Regions from separate parts of the Homo sapiens genome. Here regions 2 and 3 are each linked to region 1. Evidence: promoter capture Hi-C in 16 types of primary human blood cells and fetal thymus (Javierre and others, 2016). All regions are on one chromosome and are shown on one strand. Each heading gives the region's core, a stretch centred on a gene start or on the middle of the fragment in contact. The rest is flanking DNA. Distances are from core to core; before and after follow the strand shown.

What was found. Contacts are between HindIII fragments. The CHiCAGO score rates a contact against its expected background, and 5 or more counts as called.
Region 2: a fragment that was not itself captured here is called in contact with the fragment with the promoter of PRDX1 in region 1 in 1 of 17 cell types (neutrophils); the score reaches 5.0 in neutrophils.
Region 3: a contact is called between a fragment that was not itself captured here and the fragment with the promoter of PRDX1 in region 1, in 1 of 17 cell types (megakaryocytes). The highest score is 5.1, in megakaryocytes.

What each region holds. Positions count from the first base shown.
Region 1 is chr1:45,519,801-45,524,512 of GRCh38, forward strand. PRDX1 (peroxiredoxin 1) reads right to left here and starts at 2,084. Exons shown (of 6, transcript NM_181697.3): 1 at 2,029-2,084. RefSeq lists a silencer at 1,278-1,440 and an enhancer at 2,483-2,562. The HindIII fragment of the contact is 8,348 bases long and covers 1,685-4,712 here.
Region 2 is chr1:45,034,582-45,039,293 of GRCh38, forward strand. It overlaps ZSWIM5 (zinc finger SWIM-type containing 5), which reads right to left. Exons shown (of 14, transcript NM_020883.2): 8 at 4,355-4,492; 9 at 1,458-1,718; 10 at 1,107-1,242. Among named protein-coding and RNA genes, the nearest start is that of UROD, 25 kb to the left of the region's middle. The HindIII fragment of the contact is 4,650 bases long and covers 1-4,603 here.
Region 3 is chr1:45,885,478-45,890,189 of GRCh38, forward strand. All of the region lies in intron 4 of MAST2 (microtubule associated serine/threonine kinase 2), which reads left to right. The region is part of intron 2 of LOC105378694 (a long non-coding RNA gene); the gene reads right to left. Among named protein-coding and RNA genes, the nearest start is that of MAST2, 84 kb to the left of the region's middle. The HindIII fragment of the contact is 1,906 bases long and covers 1,751-3,656 here.

The sequences.
Region 1 (4,712 bases), core at 834-3,333:
TTGGTCAGGCTAGTCTCAAACTCCTCACCTCAGATGATTGCCCAACTCAGTCTCCCAAAATGCTGGGATTACAGGCGTGAGCCACCGCGCCCTTCCAGTCAGTCCAACTTTTAAGAGGCAAGACCACTGGGCGCAGTGTCTCACACCTGTAATCCCAGCACTTTGAGAGGCTCAGGCGGGCGGATCACCGGGTCAGGAGTTCGAGACCAGTCTGGCCAACATGGTGAAACCCCGTCTCTACTAGAAACACAAAAATTAGTCGGGCGTGGTGGTGCATGCCTGTAATCGCAACTACTCAGGAGGCTGAAGCAGGAGAATCACTTGAACCCGGGAGGCAGAGGTTGCAGTAAGCTGAGATCGCGCCACTGCACTCCAGCCTGGGCAACAGAGTGAGACTCTGTCTCCAAAAAAAAAAAAAAAAAAAAGAGGCAAGACCAAGATATTGATTGGCATCTGCTTAATTTCAAATCTTTAGGTATTGTGTAAGCCCTAGAATTCCCTTCACCATTTGTGAAGGTGGGTTCCTGACTTTGGGGCTAATATCCCAGGGCGAAAACAAGTATAAGAATCAATTTACTGCTGAAAAGGAAGGTTGCACTGGATTCACCCAGATCAACACCAAGATTAGTATTGAGATCTTGGCCAAGCGCTGTGGCTCAAGCCTGTAATCCCAGCACTTTGGGAGGCCGAGGCAGGCAGATCACCTGAGGTCAGAAGTTCGAGACCAGCCTGGCCATCATAGTGAAACCCCGTCTCTAACAAAAATACAAAAAATTAGCCGGGGGTGGTGGCACGCGCCTGCAGTCCCAGCTACTCGGGAGGCTGAGGCAGGAGAATGGCGTGAACCCGGGAGGCGGAGGCTGCAGTGAGCCGAGATCCAGCCACTGCACTCCAGCCTGGGCGACAGAGCGAGACTCCGTCTCAAAAAAAAAAAAAAAAAAAAAATACAAAAATTAGCCGGGGCTTGGTGGCACAAGCCTGTAATCCCAGCTACTCCTAAGGCTGAGGCAGAAGAATTGCTTGAATTCGGGAGACAGGGGTTGCAGTAAGCCGAGACCGCGCCACTGCACTCCAGCCTGGCCGACAGAGCGAGACTCTAGCTCAAAAAACAGAGATTTAACCCACTAAGCCGCGGTCTGAAAGCTTTTCCAAGTCCCAAAGTTCTTAGTTCACAATACCACAAGCAAAAGAAATTTTGTAAGCATGGATCTTAGCAAACTTTTAACTGTTTTTTAAAAAGTCCTTAACACCTTTAACGACAAAAAACAAAAACCAAAAACTAAGGCATGCTGCAACTTGGTGCCCCCAAATGGCCTTCTCGTCCAATCCTTCTTTCCCAAGTGGCCCCCAAGTACAAAACCCAACCAATTCGGGGTAAAGGCTGCTGGGATTCAGGCCGCCACCGGGCCCCTTCAGGGGATCTGCCCAGCGTAGAGGGCCACATCCCTAAACCCCACTTCAGGTGCCCCCTGTCCCTCCCCAGCACTGGAGAAAGCACCAGCAGAGAGAGTGCTTCAGCGGGGACATTTGGGCTCATCGCTAACTCCATTCCACGTACAGGAAAATAAAGACGGGGAAAGGGTACCCGAAGCTCCGCAGCTAGTCAAGGCTCAGGACCCGGAACAGCCAAATACATAGAGGCTGTCTTCTACAGCCACGAGTCTGGATACAGGTCCATTCCAGAAGCTTCCCGAACCCACCCCGTCCGGCAGGAGGCTAGTCTCGGAGACCCCCACCACCAGCCCGCCCAGACGCCGCGCCACGTGCTCGAGTTGCCGGGGGAAGACTCGACTCGAGTCCACGCTTGCCTTGGGGTTCAACCAGGTTCCCGCACCTACGTGGGGGGCCCACGAGAGGGGTGTGCGCAGCGCTCAAGCAGTCTCGGACTCCGGGCCTCCCCCGGCTGCCTCACGCATCACAGCACCCCCACCCGAGCGCGGGCGGGCCCCGGACAGGAGGAGGAAGAGGCAACAGGCAAGAAGGGCGCGCCGCGCCTCACTCCGCAGGGGCCGCACTGCCCACACTCACCAGTCCCAACACAAGTCGCAGAAACTAACCACCGACACCAGGCAAGAACAAGACGCGCAAGAGCTCTCCGGGGCGCTGCCTTTATAGCCAGTAGGGATCTCGCGAGAGTCGGAACGGACGGGGGTGCCGGAGGAGGAGAGAGAGGAGGGGGATGTGGCCCGAGCCCCGCCCGGCGCGCCCCGCCGGAATGACTCGGCGCTTTCCCTCGTTGGGGCGGGTGCGGAAAAATACTAATACCCCACCCTGTTGCGGATGGCTGAGGTTGGAGTGAGGCGCCCTTGTGGCCGCTCCCGAACCCGAACGCTTAGGTTAATCCTAGATCTCTGCGGAAAACCAGGATTCTCTTTACTTCCAGGACCACTACGCACTGTGCCCTCAATGCCCAAACTGGAGTAAGCGTCTTAGCTGCTGCCCACGGAGGACCACGTCTAACCACACCAAGCCATGAGAACTGTCTATCCAAATATTTCTTAAGTTCGCAGCCTTAACCCCAGCGCAGATCCTCAGTAACCCTCATGGCTTAGATAGCTTCCTTCATTGTTCTCTTTAATTACAGGGTTGCTGCTTTCTGTTGTAAAGGAAAATAAAATATCAGGACTCCTAAACTTACGCCAGAGGGAAAGTTCATCTTGGGAGGCTGATTCAGTTACACGACCATCCTCTCCCCGGATGAATAATTTGACTTTACAATCTTGAGTCAAAACATTACACATTAGCCAGACCCACACGGTAAGGCAAAAGGCCTCAGACATTTCCTGATGACTACCCCCCACAAACACACATACACAAAATCATAATTAATTATTTGCTCCCCTGGAAACCTTTAAAGTATGTAGCCTCCCATAAAACAAGGACGTGTCAATTGCAACTAGATCTACAATATAAAGTCTAGTTCCTAAAACTAAAGTTTGTTCTATTCCACATTTTTTTGAGACGGAGTCTCACTCACCCTGTCGCCCAGGCTGTAGTGCAGTGGCACGGTGTTGGCTTACTGCAACCTCCACCTCCCGGGCTCAAGCGATTCTCCCGCCTCACCTCCGGAGTGTCTGGGACTACAAGCACGCACCACCACGCCCAGCTAATTTTTTGTATTTTTAGTAGAGACGAGGTTTCATCATGTTGGCTAGGCTGGTCTCCAACGCCTGACCTCAGGTGATCCGCCCGCCTTGGCCTCCCAAAGTGCTAGGAATGTAAGCGCGAGCCACCGCACCTGGCCTCTATTCCACAAATTCCATAAATGTTCACTACTAGATTACCTTTCTACTAGACTACTTTCTACCTTTCTAGTAGTACCTTACTACTAGATTACCCTGAGTCCACCACATAATTGTTTTCTTCCTCCATTCCCTTTTTCTTCAAACATTCACCTTATCTTATGTAAAAATGTAGATTTAGGCCACCTAGGAGGGCGGATCATAAGGTCAGGAGATCGAGACCATCCTGGCCAACATGGTGAAACCCTGTCTCTGCTAAAATACAAAAACTTAGCCGAGTGTGGTGGCGCGCCTGTAGTCCTAGCTACTTGGGAGGCTGAGGCAGGGGAATCGCTTGAACCCGGAGGCAGAGGTTGCAGTGAGCCGAGAGCACCACTGCACTCCAGCCTGGCAACAGAGCAAGACTCCGTCTCAAAAAACAAAACGTAGATTTCCTGAGCATTAGCTAAAGTCTTTGCCTCAATCTTTCCCACCCCCACTTTTCAAGGAAAATGTATAAATACTAAAAACCTCCTGAGAACCTCTTGGGAAGAAACAGCCACAAAAGTGTCTGTGACATGGTTTAGTCAGTTTAGTCACTCATTTCAATTAACACTATCTCTTATCCATCCCTTCCACTGCAGCTGAAGGAAATCTTTCTGAAGTCTGATCATGTCACTGTTATTCGTGGTTTAAAAGCTGGGGAAGAAACAGCCACAAAAGTGTCTGTGACATGGTTTAGTCAGTTTAGTCACTCATTTCAATTAACACTATCTCTTATCCATCCCTTCCACTGCAGCTGAAGGAAATCTTTCTGAAGTCTGATCATGTCACTGTTATTCGTGGTTTAAAAGCTGGGGCTAAAGAAAGAAAGAAAGTAAAATTTAAAAAGAAAAGAAAAATAAAAAATAAAATAAAAGCTGAGGCTCTGTAGTCAATTTACTGAGTTAAAACTCCTCACTGTCAGGGCCGGGCGCGGTGGTTCATGTCTGTAATCCCAGCACTTTGGGAGGCTGAGGAGGGCAGATCACCTGAGGTCAGGAGTTCGAGACCAGCCTAACGTGGAGAAACCCCATCTCTACTAAAAATACAAAATTAGCCACGTGTGGTGGCGCATGTCTGTAATCCCAGCTACTCTGGAGGCTGAGGCAGGTGAATCGCTTGAATCAGGGAGGCAGAGGTTGCAGTGAGCTGAGATAGCGCCATTGCACTCCAGCCTGGGCAACAAGAGCGAAACTCTGTCTCAAAAAAAAACACACACACACAAACACAAAAACTCCTCACTGTAATTTTAGGTGTGAACTTGGGCAAGTCTTAAACTCATTAAACCTTACTTTTCTCAACTGTAAAATGGGAATAATATTAATACTTTATTGTGATTATCTATGTAGTTCAGTACAGTACTTAGTTCTTATTATAAATTAGAAATGTTAGCTGCTATTAGTATAACTCTTCCATCCTTCACACTTATAACACCCAGAACACAGTGTA
Region 2 (4,712 bases), core at 1,029-3,528, 490 kb before region 1:
AAGAGCTTTGAAGGTTTTTAAACCTATGGTACTATACACTATATGAGGTGAGTGCCTGGGCACTTAAGAGTACTCAACGCTGAATAGTTTCCACTACAAATGGATGTGAAAGGCCGTTCAAGAGCTATCGGGTTGAATAGTATGATATATTGTAAAAAGAGAGAAAAGTTAATACATTTTTAAAAAGAATCATAGGGTTGTTTATTTTATTTATTTTTGAGACAGTGTCTCTCTCTGTTGCATAGGCTGGAGTGTAGTGGCATAATCACAGCTCACTGCAGCCCCGACCTCCCAGGCTCAAGCGATCCTCCCACCTCAGTCTCTTGAGTAGCTGGGACTTCAGGTGTGCACCAACATGCCTGGCTAATTTTTGTATTTTTTGTTTTTGTAGAGATGGGGTTTCACCATGCTGCCCAGGCTGGTCTCAAACTCCTGGGCTCAAGCAATCTACCTGCCTCGGCCTCCCAAAGTGCTAGGATTATAGGCTTGAGCCACCGTACCCAGCCTGGTTATTTCTAAAAGTATAAGAAATACATGCCAAGGAATTTCCTGTTTTAGCTAAGGTATTCTCCCAGCCTTACAGTCTGACTAAAATTCTTCTTCTGTATAGTCTGCTACATCCCAGAGGTTTAACTGCCTAAACCAAGGATCCTATTCTAGCCTGGAAACAAGATGCCCATAGCTCATTGTTCTCAAGTCTTGGGGTAAACATATTTATCTCTACTTCCCCCAGCTTCTTCTGGGGACCTGTGCCTGGGAACCTTGACTGAGTTGAACTACAGAAGGGCTCAGACCCCTTCTCAGCTTGCCTGAATAACCACTGAACAGGAAGACTCAGGTCTTAAGTGCTCCTTATTTATTAACATCTCAGGGGCTTCCTCAGACAATCAACCATGAGTACTGCCAGGGAACCAAGTCACCAACAAGGAATCCAGATATGAATCCTAGATCATATAAAAATATCTGAGCCATTTTAAGGTACACTTGGTAGCGGGTCCAACAGAATGACAAAGAGGGAAAGAAAAGAAAGTGAAATAAGCAATGAAAAAGAGCACTGGACACTTCTGCTTTGGTGGAGGCAATTGGACTGGGAAAGGGCTACCCACCTCATGGCACGTAAGGCTAATTTATAGGACAGGTCTGGATCATGAGGCAGCAGAGCTGAGAACAAATACTTGGCAAAGGTATGCATGGGAACACTCTCTCGGTGGATGACTTCTCCCAGACCGCTGAAAGGACCTCCTGGAGGAAGATAAGCCAGCCAGTTATTTATCTGTATGCTTCCATCTGCCAGCCTGGACTTGAGCCCCAGTATCTCATGCATGTTTGCTAATCATGGGAACCTTCATTCACTACATTTTAATGTCATAAATGTTCCTGTACTTGTACTCTATTGGAGAGGGGAGCTCAGGGTCATGGGCCAAAGACACCGTGACAAGAGACTCTTTTCTACTTACCTTCCAGCAGTAAGATGCATTGTTTTTGCAGTGTTTGCACTAGCTCATCGTCCAGCTGCAGCTCTTGGAGTTGGCTCAGGAGCTGCTCCTCATTACGGCATACCTTGTCCTGTGCGTAGAGGCCTTCAGGCATTAACCTCTGTTGACCCAGGCCCATCAGTGCAACTTCCAGGGCCAATGACAGGTAGGACTCACTGCTGTTTGGGGAGCCTGCAGCCACAGGTACATGCTGGTACACAGGGGGTCTGCTTTCATTCATATCTGAGGGCAACAGGGCACCAAATTCTTTAGGTTAGGCTTGGTAGAGTCTTCTTTCTTTTTTTTTTTTTTTTTTGAGACAGAGTCTTGCTCTGTTGTCCAGGCTGGAGTACAGTGGTGCAATCTCAGCTCACTGCAGCCTCCGCCTCCCCGGTTCAAGCGATTTTCCTGCCTCAGCCTCCCAAGTAGCTGGGATTACAGGAGCATGCCACAACACCTGTCGAATTTTTGTATTTTTAGTAGAGGGGCGGTTTCATCATGTTGGCCAGGCTGGACTCAAACTCCTGACCTCAGGTGATCTGCCTACCTCGGCCTCCGAATGTGCTGGGATTACAGGTGTGAGCCACCGTATTCGGCCTAGTCTTCTGTCTTTCCCTCCCACCTTTGGGATACAGCTTGGTCAACAGCTATCATAGGGAAGCTGAATCAGAACCCCAGAATAGTAAGGAAAATATACTGAAAAAAAGGTTACACAGAGCCACAAAGATTCACACTTCTTTCTTTTTTAATTTTTTTGGAGACAGAGTCTTGCTTGGTTGCTAAGGCGGGAGTGTAGTGGTGCAATCATGGGTCACTGATGCAGCCTCAACCTCTTGGGCTCAAGCGACCCTCCCACTTCAGCTTCCTGAGTAGCTGGGACTACAGGCACATGCCACCATGCCCAGATAATTTTTAATTTTTTTTTGTAGAGATAGGGTCTCATTATGTTGCCCAGGCTGGTCTCAAACTCCTGGGCTCAAGTGATTTTCCCACCTTGGCCTCCCAAAATGCTGGGATTATAGGCATAAGCCACCATGCCCAGCCCCACCTCCTTTTTTTTTTTTTTTTTTTTGAGAGGGAGTCTCGCTCCATCTCCCAGGCTGGAGAGCAGTGGCACGGTATCGGCTTACTGCAACCTCCGCCTCCTGGGTTCAAGCAATTCATCTGCCTCAGCCTCCTGAGTAGCTGGGATTACAGGCACACACCACCACACCCAGCTAATTTTTATATTTTTAGTAGAGATGGGGTTTCACCATGTTGGCCAGGCTGGTCTCCAACTCCTGACCTCAGGTGATCTGCCTGCCTTGGCCTCCCAAAGTGCTGGGATTACAGGCGAGAGCCACTGCGCCCGGCCCATCTCCTTCTTAATATATGAACTGGCTAAGCCAGTTAGGGAAGTATAAAATCTTATATTTTGCTAGCACATTATGTAATGCTGTAATTGTCTGTTTTTGTTTCTGTCTCTTTCATAGAATGTGAACACCTTAAAGGGATTAGACCATCTTGTTGTTCTAGGTATTGCTATGTGTTAGTGGTGAATGAATAAACCCAAGTGCAAACTCAGGTTTCCAAGATGTAAATGTCACTGTACAGATGAAACAGACCAAAGATGATGATTCACTTTGCAAGGGATCAGAGGGAAGATAAGGAGCAGCCTGCACTTGGCTTGGGGCCACCCCTTATATCTCTACCCAGAGAAATCTGAATCCCTACAGTTAAACTCTTAACTTTTGTAACATTTGCAACCTTTATGTTACTATTATCTCATATGCTCCACCAGTGGGTGCACAATTTCAGGAAGTAAGCACGGTTTAAAAGTCAAAGTCTTGGTTTCTTTTCTTTTCTCCCTCATCTATCTAATAAGTATTTATGAAAGATTGTTAAATGTCAGGTCCTCCACTAAGTGCTAGGAACACAAAGATAAAGAAGTCATAATTTCTGTTTTCAAGTAGCTGACAGTCTAGTAAGAGAGAACTATTTGTAAATAAATTGTAATGTAGCATGCTAAATACTAAAGTAGATATATGTATACAGTAAGTGAAGGTATAAAAGAAAAAAGAATCAATTTTGTCTCTATCTATTCTTGGCTACTCTAATAGAGTCTTGAGGCTCTATTAAATTATTCTCCTCTATTTCTTATTTGTAAAATTGGTACAAAACCATCATGTGGAAGAAAGTTCAAAGGAAACCAGAAAATATTATTATGCAATTGCAAGGGATACACAGATTCTTAATGGAAGTTCTTTCCCACTTTCAGACTGCTCTAGGTTCTCGCCTCTGACTGCTAAAATTTCTCTATCACTTGTTATTCTTCTTGGACTACATTCTTTAGGCATTTATGATAGGGAAATAAAAGGAACAAGGAAGGCTGGCAAGGTAAAATGCAAAATCAGGACAAGGCCAGACCAAAGGGTAGGAAAGGAAGGTGGGAAATGGGCAAGCATGAAGAAACCTCTCAGGGTGCTCTAGTTTGGACAAGAGGGGGAAAAAACTTCAAAAGGAGGTAGAACAGAGTCTGGAAGGGAGAAAAGGGCTGACGAGGGCAGTCTTTTTTTTTTTTTTTTTAATGAAACAGGGTCTCACTTTGTCACCCAGATTGCAGTGCAGTGGTGTGATCTTGACTCACTGCAGCCTCGATCTCCTGGGATCAAGTGATCCTACTGCCTCAGCCCCGAAGTAGCTGGGATTACAGGCGACTGACCACACCTGGCTAATATTTTGTAGAGACAGGGTTTTGCCATGTTGCCCAGGCTGGTCTTGAACTCTTGAACTCAAGTAATCCACCCACCTTGGCCTCCCAAAATGCTAGGATTACAGGTGTGAGCCACCATGCTAACCAACAAGGGCAGTCTTGGTTTGCCTCAGGCTGACCCCTGTACCTGACATCTCCAGATAGCCATCATCATTCAGGCGGCAGGCCTCAGTCAAAGTGAGAAACAGGCAGTCGATGGGATCCAGGGGGTGGCCCACCCAGCCCTCCAGGTTTGTGATGGTTGTGGTTCCTCTCTGCAACAGTTCTGGAAACAAGCAGGTTAAAATTTTAGACAGTGATAGAGACAAACTGCTGTCTGTCCCTGCCTGGGTCTTCTTATCAGTCTCTCCAGCCTTGACCCTGAGAGTCAAATAAAAGCTTCTCTATTGTCTTGCCTTGGGTTGATACGGCTGGCCACAAACATACCAGCCAGCTATAAGGTCACGTGGTCTGCATTTGGGTTGCCTGCTGGTAGTGCATACGTG
Region 3 (4,712 bases), core at 1,454-3,953, 370 kb after region 1:
ATGTGACAACTTGGCATTATACAAAATACACATTCTTCCACTCAACAAGTAATTCCTCCAAAGTCTCCAAATTGGTAAGTGGAAGTATAGCATAAAAATTAACAGCTTGGGTTTGCAAGTCAGGCAGATGTGGGTTTCAGTCACGGCACTATTACTTACTAGATGTTTTTTGGTAAAATCAGTTACTATATTTTTGTCTTTTTGCCTCCATTCACTTTGTCATTTGCTCAAATCTTTCCATCCATGCATCCATCATACTATATTATTTTAGTTCCAGTTAGGTGTAGGCACTATTCTAGATACTGGAGATACAGTAGTGAATAAAGCAGACAAGGTCCCTGTGCTCATGGAGTTTCCATTCTACTTAAGAGAGACAAAAACATGTATGATATGCCATATGGTACTTACTGCTATGAAGAAAAATAAAGCCAGATATCAGAGAGGAGGATGTGTGTTTCTGTGGGGGTGAGGGTTTAAATTTTAAATTTTAAATTGAATTGTCTAGGCTGGGTGTGGTGGTTCACACCTGTAATCCGAGCACTTTGAGAGACTAAGGCAGGAGGATCGCTTGAGTTCAGGAGTTTGAGAACAGCCTGGGCAACATAGTGAGACCCTGTCTCTACAGAAAAATTTTAAAAATCAAAAAATTTTGTATTGTCCAGGAATTTTCTCATTAAGGCAACATTTGAGCAGAGAACAGGAGTCTGGAATGAGTGATACTGAGATAGAGATAGATCGATAAATATATATGTATATATTATATATATTTATATACTTATATAAGTATACATATATATTTATATATTGTATACATATTTATATATGTATCTATAAGTACACACACACACACACACACACACACACACACACATTTATAGTGACATTGGTCAGATTAGGGAAGAGAGCTGTTACATTCTAATACGCAAAATGCAAACATCATCTATGCCTGCCACGATAAGGGCTTTATTGGGGCAAGGTGGTTATGAAAGTTCTTTTGGCCTGGCTCATACCATTTATTTTAGATGTAGCTTCCTGAAACTAAATCATTTTCATTTTTAGAAAGCTATTTCATATTTAAACCCATCTGGGTATTTTTTTAATGCATTAAAAATGTAGTTTAGAATATCAGACCTAAGGGAGTTGATAACTTTGTTCAAAGTACAATATCTGTGAAAAGAAGATTTTGAAGTTCTAAAGTTACTTGTATCTGTTTACCCAGGCTAGAAGGGTTTTATATTTTACTTTTTCATAATTGAAGCAGCTCTGAATGGCTTTTCTTGCCCAATGCTATAGTGGGGGCCTCTTTTTGATGATTCCTTTCAAATAGGATTGTTTCTTTTGCTGTTGTTGTTATTTTGTTTGTTTTTGTGACAGGGTCTCATTCTTTAGCCTAGGCTGGAGTGCAGTGGCGCAGTCTCAGCTCACTGCAGCCTGGTCCTCCCTGGCCTCAGGAGATCTTCCCATCACAGCCTCCTGAGTAGCTGGCACCACAGGCACCTGCCACCACATCTGGCTAATTTTTGTATTTTTTGTAGAGATGGGGTTTCACTATGTTACTCAGGCTGGTCTGGAACTCCTGAGCTCAAGCTATCTGCCTACCTTGGCTTCCCAAAGTGCTTAGATTACAGGCATGAACCACAATGCCTGGCGACTGTTTATTTTGTTTGTGAATTTCAGCACCAGTACCTAGACCCTGCATTTGGGAGCTTAATGTAAATAATGCTTATGTCTCCAGTTACCCTGAAAGTAAAGCTTTTCTAATACCCATTAGGCTTAAGATAATTTTCCTCATATTTCATGAAATGTCTTGCTTTATTTCTTAGAGGCTATGAGCAGTCAATTGAGATAACAGACTGTAGGAGTGGAGAGGTAGCTGTTGGTTGCATTCATCATGGGGTATGTGTATATGTGTGTGTTGATATTATTGGCATTGCTGGCTTGTAGTCTTTAGAGCCCTTGGGGATAGTTAACCTTTTATTTTGTCAGCTTATTCATTTGGGCAGTGGACTTAGATACCAGATATTGGATGAAAGTTAATGTCTGGTGTCTGCAGTGATAGGCACTGCATAGTGGGCAGGGAGGAGTTCCTGGGCCCCAGGGATGTGATGTGTCAAACTTTGTTCCTATGAAACTGACAGTGTCATGTACTTTCCCATTCTGATGCAACTTGATGCCTGGATCAATGCTTCTGGAAAATGTGCTAAAAAGAGATACCACCTGCTGCATACACATAATAAACCCTTTGTTGAGGTATCAGTGGCGTCTGATATAGGGCTTTAGGTTTTCTGTGGGGCTTTGAAAATCAGGAAATTTTGCAATCTTTCAAGACTCTAAAGCCCAGAGTGATAGCTTTGTGTTACATTTAAGACCCTGTCTTTTAAAAGTTGGTGGGAAGTAATTTCATATAGATTCTCTAAGTGTCCAATGGGAAGGCAGGACGTAGCAGAGGTTGGGAGGGAAGTAGCCATAGTCATCACTCATATCCCTACAGGGAACCAGTTTGTTGTTAAAAAATGGATGTAGTTGTTGGCGAGCTTTACCTGTGTAGGTGGGATCTGAAAATCCTTGAGAACCTGTTTTTGTTACTGTATGTTGAGAATAGTTGTCATGCTCATTATCCCCACATTTATATCGCTAGATCTCATAACTGTCCATTCACCATAATGTGACTGAATATTTCAGAGACATCTGAACTGCAGCATTTATGAATCTGAGTCATTGTCTTTCTCAAAAATCAGGTCCTCTCTTATACTCTAGCTTATTAAATGGTACTGCTTCCTCAAGATAGAAAATTTAGTTATTTTTGTTGCCATGCTCTTCCTTACACTCACAAGTCTTTTCTGTTATACCTCTCAAATATCTCTTGGTGTTCTGTCTTTATTTTTATTTTATTTTATTTTTTTGAGACTGAGTCTCGCTCTGTGGTCCAAGCTGGAGTACAGTGGCGCCATCTGGGCTCACTGCAAGCTCCGCCTCCCGGGTTCACACCATTCTCCCACCTCAGCCTCCTGAGTAGCTGGGACTACAGGCCCCCACCACCACGCCCGGCTAATTTTTTGTGTTTTTAGTAGAGACCGGGTATCACTCTGTTAGCCAGTATGGTCTCGATCTGCTGAACTTGTGATCCACCCACCTCGGCCTCCCAAAGTGCTGGGATTACAGGCGTGAGCCACCGCGCGCGGCCTCTTTTTTTTTTTTTTTTTTTTTTTTTTTTTTTTTTTTGAGATGGAGTCTTGCTCTCTCGCCCAGGCTGGAGTGCAATGGCACAATCTCGCCTCACTGCAACCTCCGCCTCCCAGGTTCAAGTGATTCTTCCGCCTCAGCCTCCCCAGTAGCTGGTACTACAGATGTGTGCACCACGCCTGGCTAATTTTTTGTATTTTTAGTAGAGACGGGGTTTCACCACGTTAGCCAGGATGGTCTCAATCTGACCTCATCATCCATCCGCCTCGGCCTCCCAAGTGCTGGGATTACAGGCCTGAGCCACTGTGCCCGGCTGGTGTTCTCTCTTTCTTTATACTACCACTGGTTTGTCCAGATAGTCACAGCCATTGTAATCTCTTGCCTCTGCTACTGCCATAACCTCCTAACTGGCCTTTCTTTATCTGGCATTGCTCACCCTCAGTCTACCTAACTATCATACAATAGCCAGGAAAAGCTTTTTAAAATGCGGATTTCATTATTAGATATTAATTTAAACTTTTTTGGTGAAATTTTTTTTTTTTTGAAACAGAATCTCACTTTGTCACCCAGGTTGGAGTACAGTGGTGCGATCACGGCTCAGTGCAGCCCCAGCCTTCCTGGGCTCAGGTGGTACTCGCACCTCAGTCTCCCAAGTAGCTGGGACCACAGGTGCACGCCGCCACACCCAGCTAATTTTTGTACTTCTTGTAGAGGTGGGGTTTTGCCATGTTGCCCTGGCTGGTCTCAAACTCCTGGGCTAAAACTACCTGCCTTCCTCGGCCTTCCGAGGTGCTGAGATTACAGGTGTGAGCCTCTGCACCTGGCCTTTGGTGAATTTTTTCTTACTCTTAGGATCACACCTGACTATCTATACAGTGTGGTTGCTATATTTTTCTCCATGTTTTACACAATGTGTTCTCTGTGCCTGGAATTTTTGTTTTGTTTCGTTTTGTTTTGTTTTTTTGAGGCAGAATCTCACTCTGTTGCCAGGCTGGAGTACAGTGACGCAATCTTGGCTCACTGCAACCTCCACCTCCTGGGTTCAAGCAATTCTCTTGTCTCAGCCTCCTGAGTAGCTGGGACTACAGGTGCACGCCATGACACCCAGCTAATTTTTTTTTTTTATTTTTAGTAGAGCCAGGGTTTCACCACATTGGTCAGGCTGGTCTCGAACTCCCAACCTCAGGTGATTAAGCAATTCTCCTGCCTCAGCCTCCCAAGTAGCTGGGACTACAGGTGCGCTCCACCACGCTGAGCTAATTTTTATATTTTTAGGGTTTCACCATGTTGGCCATGATGGTCTCAATCTTTTGACCTCGTGATCCGCCTGCCTCGGCCTCCCAAAAGTGCTGGGATTACAGGCATGAGCCCCCGTGCCCAGCTGGAATGTTCTTTTTCCATCTATACCAATCTAGTTCCTACACACCTTTCAAGTCCCAGCTTACACCTCACTTCCTTATGAAAGGCGTTCCTGACCTCACCCAAACCTTGCTGTCTGTAGACTAAGTTGGGTTTCCCAGAACATACTT